2 separate regions of the Homo sapiens genome follow, and region 1 is linked to region 2. The links are contacts of gene promoters, found by promoter capture Hi-C in blood cells and fetal thymus (Javierre and others, 2016). All regions are on one chromosome and are shown on one strand. Each heading gives the region's core, a stretch centred on a gene start or on the middle of the fragment in contact. The rest is flanking DNA. Distances are from core to core; before and after follow the strand shown.

The links. The method cuts DNA at HindIII sites, captures the fragments that hold promoters and counts their contacts. A CHiCAGO score of 5 or more calls a contact.
Region 1: the fragment with the promoter of BTN1A1 here is called in contact with a fragment that was not itself captured in region 2 in 1 of 17 cell types (megakaryocytes); the score reaches 5.8 in megakaryocytes.

What each region holds. Positions count from the first base shown.
Region 1 is chr6:26,498,041-26,503,804 of GRCh38, forward strand. BTN1A1 (butyrophilin subfamily 1 member A1) reads left to right here and starts at 2,263. Exons shown (of 8, transcript NM_001732.3): 1 at 2,263-2,318; 2 at 3,190-3,325; 3 at 3,550-3,897. The coding sequence starts at 3,247. The region is part of intron 1 of LOC107986583 (a long non-coding RNA gene); the gene reads right to left. RefSeq lists an enhancer at 3,552-3,681. The HindIII fragment of the contact is 5,298 bases long and covers 1-4,866 here.
Region 2 is chr6:26,262,801-26,268,823 of GRCh38, forward strand. No RefSeq gene overlaps it. Among named protein-coding and RNA genes, the nearest start is that of H3C8, 5.6 kb to the right of the region's middle. The HindIII fragment of the contact is 2,510 bases long and covers 1,929-4,438 here.

The sequences.
Region 1 (5,764 bases), core at 1,013-3,512, 230 kb after region 2:
CACGCCTGTAGTCCCAGCTACTTGGGAGGCTAAGGCAGGAGAAATGCTTGAACCTGGGAGTCAGAGGTTGCAGTGAGCTGAAATTGTGCCACTGCCCTCCAGCCTGGGTGACAAAGTGAGACTCCATCTCAAAAAAAAAAAAAAAAAAAAGTTAAGAAGAGACAGAATATTCTGGAAGGGGGAAGGCAAGCACTGCTATCTGGAGGCCTGAGAGGCATTGTGGGTTGAGGTAACCACACCCACTCCAAATTCAGCCTGTGGGTGGACAAGCAGGGAAGGAGAAGGGGAATGGAGAAAAAGCCCTCAGGAAAGAAGCAAGGAGACTGCCAGAGTATTTTCTTGACCAGATCAAGCTAGACCTACAGTATTTTCCTAACCAGATTAAGGTGCATAAACTTGATGCTGAAGTCACTAGGGAGATGTGGAAGGATTTTTAAGCAAAAAGTGATATGATCAGATTTGCATTTGGGAAAGATCATTCTCTTGGCAGTCTGGTGGGTGAAATGGAGCAACTGTCTTTTGTCTTAATCACAATTCCAACTCAAAGATAAATAACAAAACTGGGAAGAATGTTTGTTACAAATATAATACAGGATTGATATTTTTAAGTTATTAAAATTCACACAGATTGCTAAGAACTAGCACCAGGACCAGTCTTGAAAACAATGGGCAACTGGCCTGAACAGCTCATTTCTAGAATGTATTAAATGTCTAATTAACACATAAAAAACTCCAGCCTCGCTAACATATAAAGGCACAATAAATAATAATTTAATTAACTTGACCCATCCCAATAGTAAGGATGTGAAATAATAACTTCTCAGTGCTAGCAGGGATTAGGTGAGGGCACCTCCATTGAGGGTGTGATGGATTCAACATTTCAGGAAGGGACTGTAGAAATATGCTGATACTAGGTCGGGCATGGTGGCTCACACCTGTAATCCCAGCACTTTGGGAGACCAAGGCAAGCAGATCATTGAAGCTCAGGAGTTCGAGACCAGCCTGGCCAACATGGTGAAACCCTGTCTCCACTAAAATACAAAAATTAGTTGGGCATGGTGGCACGTGCCTGTAATCTCAGCTACTCAGGAGGCTGAGGCAAGAGGAAAATCCTTTGAACCCTGGAGGCGGAGGTTGCAGTGAGCCAAGATTACGCCACTGCACTCCAGCCTAGGCGACAGAGTGAGATTCCGTCTCAAAAAAAAAAAGAAAAGAAAAGAAATATGCTTATACCATTTGATCTGATGACTCTATTTCTGGAAATTTATTAAACAGTTTATCAGGACATTATCCAATTTGCAAATAAAGACTTATATATAAAGTGTATTATTTACAATAGGAAAAAAATCCCAAATGTCCCACAATCATGGCAATTATACAACTATTAACAATATTTTGAGTTACACAAAAAGTCTAATTGATTGCTTTTATGATATACATAAGCATAAAATAAATCTTGGAAGGACTATGCCAAAATGTGAATTGAGGCTATCATTAGTTAGTAGATTAAGTGTGACCTCCATTTTATAAAAATATTTTTCTGTATTTTTAAATTTTTTCATAACAATGAGAGGTAGGTTTAGTATAAATTAAGGAATTGTAGGCCTCATGATGAGTTGCTTCAAAAGAAATAATTGTCAGGGAGGCAACTTTTGGGCCCTGTAAACAGAATTCACAGCCTACCCTTAAGACTGGCCTTTAATGGAGTTGTTCCAACAGACACAGCACCTAAGGTGGACGGACGCTCCAATAACGAAGATGGCTATAGACAGAGGCTACTGCTACCTTGGCCTCTGGGCTTTCATTTTTCAACCCGCAGAAATAATAATAGAATAACAATTTATCCTCCGCTGAGTTCCTACTATGTGCTAAGCACTTTACCTGCTTAATCTCACTTAATCCTCCCAACACCTCTTCAAGAAAGGTATGATCAATATTATTACCATTTTAGAGATCAAAGAACTGAGGCTTGGAAAGAGGAAATAACTGGCTGAAGCCATCACATCTCATTTGTGTGTTTCCTTGCCTCTCTTCTCTTTTTCTCTTTTCTGCCTTTCATTTGGTCCAGCTCATCAATGCATATCTTGATTTCTGAGCTGAAGACCACAAATCCAGTTTTCCATCTCTCTGAAAAACTTTTCATCTCCCTTTTTTTTTTCCTCAGAGTGAATATACCAGGCCACCTGGAGGCAGGCTTTCCTGAGAGCACCTCCCGCTTCCTTTTCCTGCTGGCTTTTAACTTTTGCCCCGGGGGCCACAGCCAGCTTTCTCACTTGGTAGCAGTGGCCTCTTGTGCCTTTTTCTCCAAGATCACCCAGGTCAGTATGTGTGGTTACTCTCAGCTCCCTGAGGGAGTGAGCAGCCAGAGGGGCATAGCATACTTCTCTCCCTCCAGCTCCTTTCTCCTTGGTCCTAGGCCCTCTACTCTTCAAGCCCTTTTGCTTGCTTCAGCTCCTGCTTCTTGCTCCATCTCCTCCCATCTTTTCTCTCTTCTCCAATTCATTTCCTTGGACTCCATTTCTGCCTTTATACCCTTATCTTTATTATCATTGCCAAAAGCAAATACCAAATTCTTGTATTTGAAAAAAGACTTTGGCCAGGCACGGTGGCTCACGCCTGTAATCCCAGCACTTTGGGAGGCCAAGGCGGGTGGATCACGAGGTCAGGAGTTCGAGGCCAGCCTGGCCAACGTGGTGAAACTCCGTCTCTACTGAAAATACAAAAAATAGCGGGGCATGGTGGTGCGCGCCTGTAGTCCCAGCTACTCCGGAGGCTGAGGCAGAACAATCGCTTGAACCCAGGAGGCTGAGGTTGCATTGAGCCGAGATCATGCCACTGCACTCCAAGCTGGGCAACAGAGCAAGACTGTCTCAAAAATAAATAAATAAATAAATAAAAAGGAGACTTTTTTTTTAGTGCAGTGATTCCAAGATTTGTTCATCGATATGCAACCAACTAATGAGTGTTATGCCTCACAGTTCCCTTCTCCTAAGTTTTAGAGTTAGAGTAGTGGGTGGGAAGGTGATAACCACAGTGTAAACTAAAAATCCATACTGGGGATGGAGGCTGAGAGGAGGTTTCAGGGGCAAATGACCAGAACACTTGCAGCTGGAAAGAACTGTAGAGAGGACTTTGGAAAGCGGAGGGTTGACAGAGCCGGTAGTTGTCTCCTGTCCATTCATCTCCTAGGCTGAAGCTCCTGAGGGGACTCACATCAGTTATCTTGCTGCTCCAGAAGGGTGGGAGATGGCAGTTTTCCCAAGCTCCGGTCTCCCCAGATGTCTGCTCACCCTCATTCTCCTCCAGCTGCCCAAACTGGATTCAGGTAAGTCTCTCTCTCTCTCTGGGCTGCATAGTTGAAATATATCAATAAATGTAAAATAAACAATCCCACTTGGCTCTCCCTGGAGACCTCCACTGGATCCAGACAAACTCAGCTGTCAAAGGAGTAAGAGAGCGCGGGGCACTGCGCTTTGGCGGGAATCTGGTCGGTGTCTGTCCGTAGTTCCCATCTCCACATCCCGTCTGATCCCGCTCGTTTTTCGGCAGCTCCCTTTGACGTGATTGGACCCCCGGAGCCCATCCTGGCCGTTGTGGGTGAGGACGCCGAGCTGCCCTGTCGCCTGTCTCCGAACGCGAGCGCCGAGCACTTGGAGCTACGCTGGTTCCGAAAGAAGGTTTCGCCGGCCGTGCTGGTGCATAGGGACGGGCGCGAGCAGGAAGCCGAGCAGATGCCCGAGTACCGCGGGCGGGCGACGCTGGTCCAGGACGGCATCGCCAAGGGGCGCGTGGCCTTGAGGATCCGTGGCGTCAGAGTCTCTGACGACGGGGAGTACACGTGCTTTTTCAGGGAGGATGGAAGCTACGAAGAAGCCCTGGTGCATCTGAAGGTGGCTGGTGAGTAGACGGGTTTTGACTTTCTCCGACGACTCCCCTGCTGTATACACTTTCGTATGGATCAGTTACTTTGGAAACCATCAGATTCATTCTCAAAATCTCTTTTAGGTTGATGTCGCCGGGGAGGGACGACTATCTGGGCGGGAGGCGAGGGGGGGTAAAAGAATTTACCAAGACAGTTGTAAAGAAAGGCAGATTTACTTTTAAAAGTATGAAAATACTTTTCGAGGAGGCAAAAGGCAGGATCAGCAAAAGAGAAGCTGACTGCCAGGAAACAAAGGCTTGCTGGATAATTTATAGAATAGTTTTTATGCTGTCTGTTGAAGATGGCTTTGTGCAGTATCTATAAGGCAAAGGTTGCAGTGAGCTAACTTGCAGGTGTTTGGTGATAGTTGGACACAGGAAGGATGACTGTGAGTTATTTGCACAGGAGGGCTGTGTACTGGACCATGAAGAAAGGCAGACTTGCAGCTTATCTGCCTTATCTCTTTGTTTTCCCCTGATTAGGACTCCACAGCTAGAAGGTACTGAAGGTCCTACAGTAGGAAATCAGTGAGAAAGGGTTTTGAGTTGAACATGGAGAGAACAGTGCAATGTCTTTATTGTAGAACTTTATTTCAATTATCTCCAGCCCTTTTTCAATAATAGGGTAAGCATTTCTTCATGAAATAATTAAATACATATAAGAGTTATATAACATTCTTTTATACAAGTACACCATAATTTACTTCATCGAGTCCCTGAATTGTACATTTAAATTGTATTTCTCACCATTACACATCTTATGGCTGTGGTGAGCATACCACACACTTTAAGGCTGGCTTATGGATTAGTTTCTAAAGACTGACATCCTAAGATTAGAGAGCATGGCGGTTTGTCACATTCCTGATTCATATAGAAAAGATTCTGTTCTTGTTCCCTTTTTTGCTTCAAGCCAGAATTCAAAGGGAAACAATAAAGAAAATAATAAGCTTTGAGGAGGAAAGTACGCATTGAGGTCTGACTTTCTCAATTCCTAGTGAATGACATCAAGCAAATCTCTTTCTGATTTTTACTGTAAAACTGAGGATGTTTTTATCTAAGATTATTTTTCAAGAATAAAATAGTCTGGGACCAGTGGCCAACTCCTATAATCTCAGCGCTTTGGGAAGCAGAGGCAGGAGGATCTCTTGAGCCAAGAAATTCAAGGTTACAGTAAGCTGATGGTTGCCACTGCACTCCAGCCTGGACAATAGAGTGTGCTGTCAAAAAAAGAAAAAAAAAAAGTGGGATGTGGTGTCTCACGCCTGTAATCCCAGCATTTTGGGAGGCCAAGGCGGGTGACTCACTTTTGATCAGGATATTCAAGACCAGCCTGGCCAACATGGCAAAACCCCATCTCTACTAAAAATACAAAAAGAAATTAGCTGGGTCATACCTGTAATCCCAGCTACTCAAGGAAAATCGCTTGAACCTGGGAGGCAGAGGTTGCAGTGAGCTGAGACTGCACTACTGCACTCCAGCCTGGGCAACAGAGTGAGACTCGTCTCTAACAAAAAAAAAAAGAATAAAATAAAATTAGACAATATATGAGAAATGACCTCGCCAATTCTAAAAACATTATAGACTTATTAGATACTATACTGTGCCTTAAACTGATCTAAAACATATAATATACAAACATATTGCCTTTCACATATATATCATATATGTATATATTATCTAAATCTATATGCATATATTATATATATATATACATAGATATATATTCAAGTAAATATAAAGTTTGAAAAATACTTGGGTGAAATGTGGGTCCCTGCTTCACAACAGGGTCCCCCAGTTGCAGCATCATGTATAATTCAAATTTTGACATTTTGTTTTTAGGGAA
Region 2 (6,023 bases), core at 1,934-4,433:
AATTAAATAAAATCAGTAAGGCGGCCGGGGGTGATGGCTCATGCCTGTAATCCAACACTTTGGGAGAGAGAGGTGGGAAGATTGCTTGAGGCAAGGAGTTTGAGACTTCAGTGAGCTAGGATCATGCCACTGCAGTCCAGCCTGGATAACAGAGCAAGACTGTCTCAAAGAAAAAAAAAAGAAAAAGAAAAGGAAAAGAAAAGAGAAAAGAAAAATAAGAAAAGAAAAGCTCAAGGAGAAAACAGAGACTCTATAATATTGACATTGCTCCCCAAAAGTCTCGTAGAATAATCTGGGTAAATTTTGTAAGACACCAGATATGTCTTTTTTCCTCTAACTGCACTTAACCAAAAAAGTGAAAGTAATTGATAGTCCATTTTTGACAGTTATAATCATAAATAAAATCCCTGGATCTCATATCGGACAATAGTCTCACTCAATATGAAGGATTAAGAAGAAATGTGATCTCTCAATTTTTTGTCAAGGTTTATCTAGGGCTCAAAATCAGTAGCTGGGAACATGTATCATCTTCATCATAATTTAATTTTGTTTTATTATGGATTCGGCCATCACATTATAACCATTATAGAAATTTTAATGTGGAGTTCTGTTGCTAGTAGGAGCAGTTTTCTTTGTACTTTGGAGCTCATCCGTAGATATCTAGTATAATGAAATCTCAGAAAATGTTACAGCATATAAAGCCTTGTAAAGATTACATTGGTTTCTTTCATGTGAAAAGTAAAATGATAGCAATTTTGCAGATCTCTTATTTTTTATTTTAAATAAATTATCATATAATAATACTCTTTCCTTAACTACTGGTATCCTTGAATAAGGCGAGCAGTCTTCCATGGGGTTAGCACTCATTGCTTATCTTTTCCTGCCCCTGCCTCTTGATTCACTGTCTTAACTGAATGTCCTTGGGTATCTGGAGCAACACGTTTGAAAAATTAAAATGTATGAATCAGGCCGGGTTCAGTGGCTCATGCCTGTAATCCCAGCACGTTGGGAGGCCAAGGTGGGGAGATCACCTGAGGTCAGGAGTTCAAGACCAACCTGGCCAACATGGCGAAACCACATCTCTACTAAAAAAAAAAATACAAAACTTAGCCAGGCGTGCAGGCACCTGTATTCCCAGCTACTTGGGAGGCTGAGGCAGGGAGAAGTGCTTGAACCTGGGAGGCGGAGGTTACAGTGAGCCGAGATCCTGCCACTGCACTCCAGCCTGGGCAACAGAGTGAGACTCTGTCTCAAAAAAAAAAAAAAAAAAAAAAGAAGGCAGGGCGCGGTGGCTCACTCCTGTAATCCCAGCACTTTGGGAGGCCAAGGTGGGTGGATCACCTGAGGTCAGGAGTTGGAAACAAGCCTGACTAACATGGCAAAACCCCATCTCTACTAAAGATACAAAAATTAGCTGGACATTGTGGCACATGCCTGTAATCCCAGCTACTCAGGAGGCTGAGGCAGGAGAATCACTTGAACCCGGGAGGCGGAGGTTGCAGAGAGCCGAGATCGTGCCATTGCACTCCAGCCTGGGCAACAAGAACGAAACTCCGTCTCAAAAAAAAAAAGTATAAATCAGTACTGAGTTACCTGGAAATTCCAGCTTAAGAAAAACAAAGGCCCTGGTTTTATGTAGTTGGCTATCAGAACAATGTCCATAGCCCAAATATGCACCCAACTCAGGATCCATGAATCAATGTTTCTTCTCTCTGGTATGATCTTCCTACAGCTGTATAAAGAACTCACTCTCTTCTCTGCTCAGTCTTGTCAGGACCAAGAAAAATCTTCGCCTTCACCCTCTGAAGTTTTTCTCAAAAATCAATTACCAAAAAACAGATTAATAGGAGAGAAAGGCACACAAGTTTATTAACATGCAGGAGGGAGAACCACAGAGTAATTACCCCAACCCCAGCAGGGGGTACAGAAGCTTAAATGCCATCTTTAGGTTAAAGAATGGGGACTCAGAGCATGGCCAAAAACAGGTTAGGGTGGTCAATCATGCAAGACAGGTTATGGGAGGGCTTTGCTAACAAAGGTGGTCTTGTTATGTAGATGAAAACTCATAGGTAACAGCCCTCAAGAAGAATACATATATAGTAAATGTTTCTTTCAGACCTTTAAAGGTGTCAGACTCAGATTTTTTTTTTTTTTTTGAGAGGGAGTCTCGCGCTGTTGCACAGGCTGGAGTGCAATGGCACAATCTCGGCTCACTGCAACCTCCGCCTCCTGGGTTCAAGCAATTCTCCTGCCTCAGCCGCCTGACTAGCGGGGATTACAGACGCCCACCACCATGCCCAGCTAATTTTTGTGTGTTTAGTAGAGACGGGGTTTCGCTACATTGGCCCAGGCTGGTCTCTAACTCCTGACCTCAAATCTGCCTGCCTCGGCCTCCCAAAATGCTGGGATTACAGGCGTGAGCCACTGCGCCCAGCCTGGTGTCAGACACTTAATCTTTCCTAGATTGGACAAGGTAAAGCCTCAGAAAAAAACCCTGGCAGCACCAAAGCAGGTTTTCTCTACAGATGCACATCTCCACAAAAGGCAGCTCTGCAGGGCAACTTCTGTTTGCAGACCCTCCAAAGAGCCATCTCAAAATATGTCAAAGAAGTATACTTGGGGATGAAATAGTTGATTTCCTTCAGCCTTGTTGGCCTAAAAGAAAGATGCAGAGGCACAAATCATAACTTAAAGAATTTATGGCCGGGCGCGGTGGCTAACGCCTGTAATCCCAGCACTTTGGGAGGCCAAGGAGGGTGGATCACGAGGTCAGGAGATGGAGACCATTCTGGCCAACATGGTGAAACCCCGTCTCTACTAAAAATACAAAAATTAGCCAGGTATGGGGGCATGCGCCTGTAGTCCCAGCTACTCAGGAGGCTAAGGCAGGAGAATCACTTGAACCCAGGAGGCAGAGGTGGCAGTGAGCCGAGATCGCACCACTGCACACCAGCCTGGGTGACAGAGCAAGACTCCGTCTCAAAAAAAAAAAAGAATTGGCGCCAGGAACGGTGGCTCATGCCTGTAATCCCAGCACTTTGGGAGGCCGAGGCGGGAGGATCACAAGGTCAGGAGATGGAGACTCATCCTGGCTAACATGGTGAAACCCTGTCTCTACTAAAAATACCAAAAAATTAGCCGGGCATGGTGGCGGGCACTGTAGTCCCAGCTACTGTGGAGGCTGAGGCAGGAGAATGGCGTTAACCCAGTGAGCCAAGATCACACCAGCCTGGGTGACAGAGCAAGACTCTGTCTCAAAAAAAAAAAAAAAAAAAAGAATTTACTTGAGCCAAAGTCAGCACAGCAGCTCAGAAATCTCAGGCCCAAGTAATCTTGGATATGAGCTCCACTGGCCTTTGTTAAAAATAGGTTTTTAAAGGCAAAAAAGGGGGGACAGAAGGTGGGCTGATACAAAATTTTTTGTCAGGAATTTTCCTTGGTTTACAGAAATAGCATTAATTAGTTATTGGCTATACATTGTAAAGCTACAGGGTGTGGGTTACAGTGTGGGATGTGGCATTATTAGATAAACTTATAGCTACTTATAACAATAACAAGCAGTATCTAGAGATGAATACATAGCTCAAAGAGGGGAGTAGGTTGTGATTGCTGTCTCATTTTAATGTTACTGTGGGCCTGATAATTTAAAATGACTCCCATTCCTCAGATGAAAGTTATTTTCTTGGCCTGGTGTGGTAGCTCAGGTCTGGTAGCCCCAGCACTTTTGGAGGCCAAAGTGAGAGGATCCCTTGAGCACAAGAGTTTGAGACTTGCCTGAGCAACATAGTGAAGCCTCGTCTGTACAAAAAAAAAAAAAAGTTATTTTCTTTTCCCAGTCTTATCTCAGTTGTGAGTTCTTCCCCATCCACCATTTTTAAAATTACAGCTGTCTACCACATTCCCTCCTGTCCTCTGGCAGTCATTCCCTTTATCCATTTTAACTTTTCTACGTCTTTTTTATATAAGAATATACTAAACTCTTTTTTTTTTTTTTTTTTGAGACAGAGTCTCACTCTGTCGCCCAGACTGGAGGGCAGTGGTATGATCTCGGCTCACTGCAACCTCCACCTCCCAGGTACAAACGATTCTCATGCCTCAGCCTTCAGAGCAGCTGGGACTACAGGTACGTGCAACCATGCATGGCTAATTTTTTGGTATTTTTTAAGTAGAGATGGAGTTTCGCCATGTTGGCCAAACTGGTCTCGAACTCCTGACCTCAAGTGATCTGCCCACCTGGGCCTCACAGGCCATAGACTTTGTGTAACTTGTGTTTCTTTCTCCTAGATGCATCTTCAACCTTGGCAAAAATAAACCTGTGAATCAGTGGAGATCTGCTCGGTCACTTTTTGGTTTACACTATTGGGGAGAACAAAAGAAGTACAGAAAAGAGCTTTCACTCTTATGGGCCTGGTGATGCACCAGAAGATTCTATAAAGCAAGCTTTACTAACTACCCTTTATCTATGTTTGCTTTCCCCAACATTGCCGCCCCTGGACACTCAAAGTACTTCTCCTTCGTCTTCTAAATTATCTAAAAATTCACTGTTCTTTGTTGAAGACACTACACAAAAGCTGGAATTCAAAGCCACCTCAATGTGTACTCATTCCCTAGGTGTCATTCATGTATATGTAATATATATGTTAATACACTTCTGCTTGTTTTTCATTTGTGAATCTGTCTTTTGTTACATGGGTTTGTTTCAACTAAGAACCTGTGTGAGGTGGGAATTGAAGGGAAAATTATTCTGCCCTTTCTCCACCTTCATTTCCTACTGTCCCCTGCTCATTCCCCATAGTCACCATGGTGCCTCAGGAGTCTCCCTCCTTTTCTCCCTGAACACATCCGCACAGGTTGCTTCCTCACCTTTCAGCTCTTTGCTGAAATATTATCTTCTTAGTGGGGTCTTCATTGGTTGCCTTATCTAAATTTCAGCTTCCCATGACACTCCTTAGTCTTGCTCTATTTTTTTTTCCTTCTCACCATCTAACATATTACATAAACATATCTAGTTTATTTTCTGTCTATTCCAGACTCAAATGTAAATTCCATGAAAGCAAAAATTTTGTGTTTTGTTCTCTGGGTGTATTTCCAATGCACAGACCAGCATCTGGTACATTGTAAATTCTCAACCAGTGTTGTTTGCAGTAAATAAAAATCAATGTTGAAGAAATATGTCAACCAAAATGGATCATATTAAATTTTTAAAAAAGAAATACTATTTGTTATAAAAGTAATGATGGCATCATAATTTATTTTTGTTTTTATTTTTGAGATGGAGTCTCGCTCTGTCACCAGGCTGGAGTGTAGTGGCATGATCTTGGCTCACTACAACCTCCGCCTCCCAGGTTCAAGAGATTTTCCTACCTCAGCCTCCCCAGTAGCTGGGATTACAGGCGTGCACCACCAGGCCCGGTCCAGCTAATTTTTATATTTTTAGTAGAGATGGGGTTTCACCAAGTTGGCCAGGTTTGTCAAGAATTAACCTCATGTGATCCTCCCACATCGGCCTCCCAAAGTGCTGGGATTACAGGAGTGAGCCAAGGCACCTGGTCCATAATAAGGTGTTAAATAGCAGATAACATATATAAAATAGATGAAATGATATTGAAATTGTCATTGCAACATTGTAACTGAGACAAAGAGATCTGACCTAACCAACTCCATCTTGCTTCTAACCTTCAAGCTGTCCTTGTTCACTCCTGGGTGTAGGCTGAACTACCTTTGGGAGGAACTTAGTTTATAGTTTAAAACTAATATGATAACAGCCCTTTCCCAAAACAAACCTCCTTGCCTGGGGACTAGACTGCCTTTGTAGGACTAACAAATTACTCACAAGATTAGAAATTATGGTTTAGGGGTAGGTCGTAATGGCTCACGCCTGTAATCCCAACATTTTGGGAGGCGAAAGCGGGTGGATCACTTGAGGTCCAGAGTTCGAGACCAGCCTGGCCAATATGAGGAAACCTCGTCTCTACTAAAACTACAAAAATTGGCTGGGCATGGTGGCGCGCGCCTGTAATCCC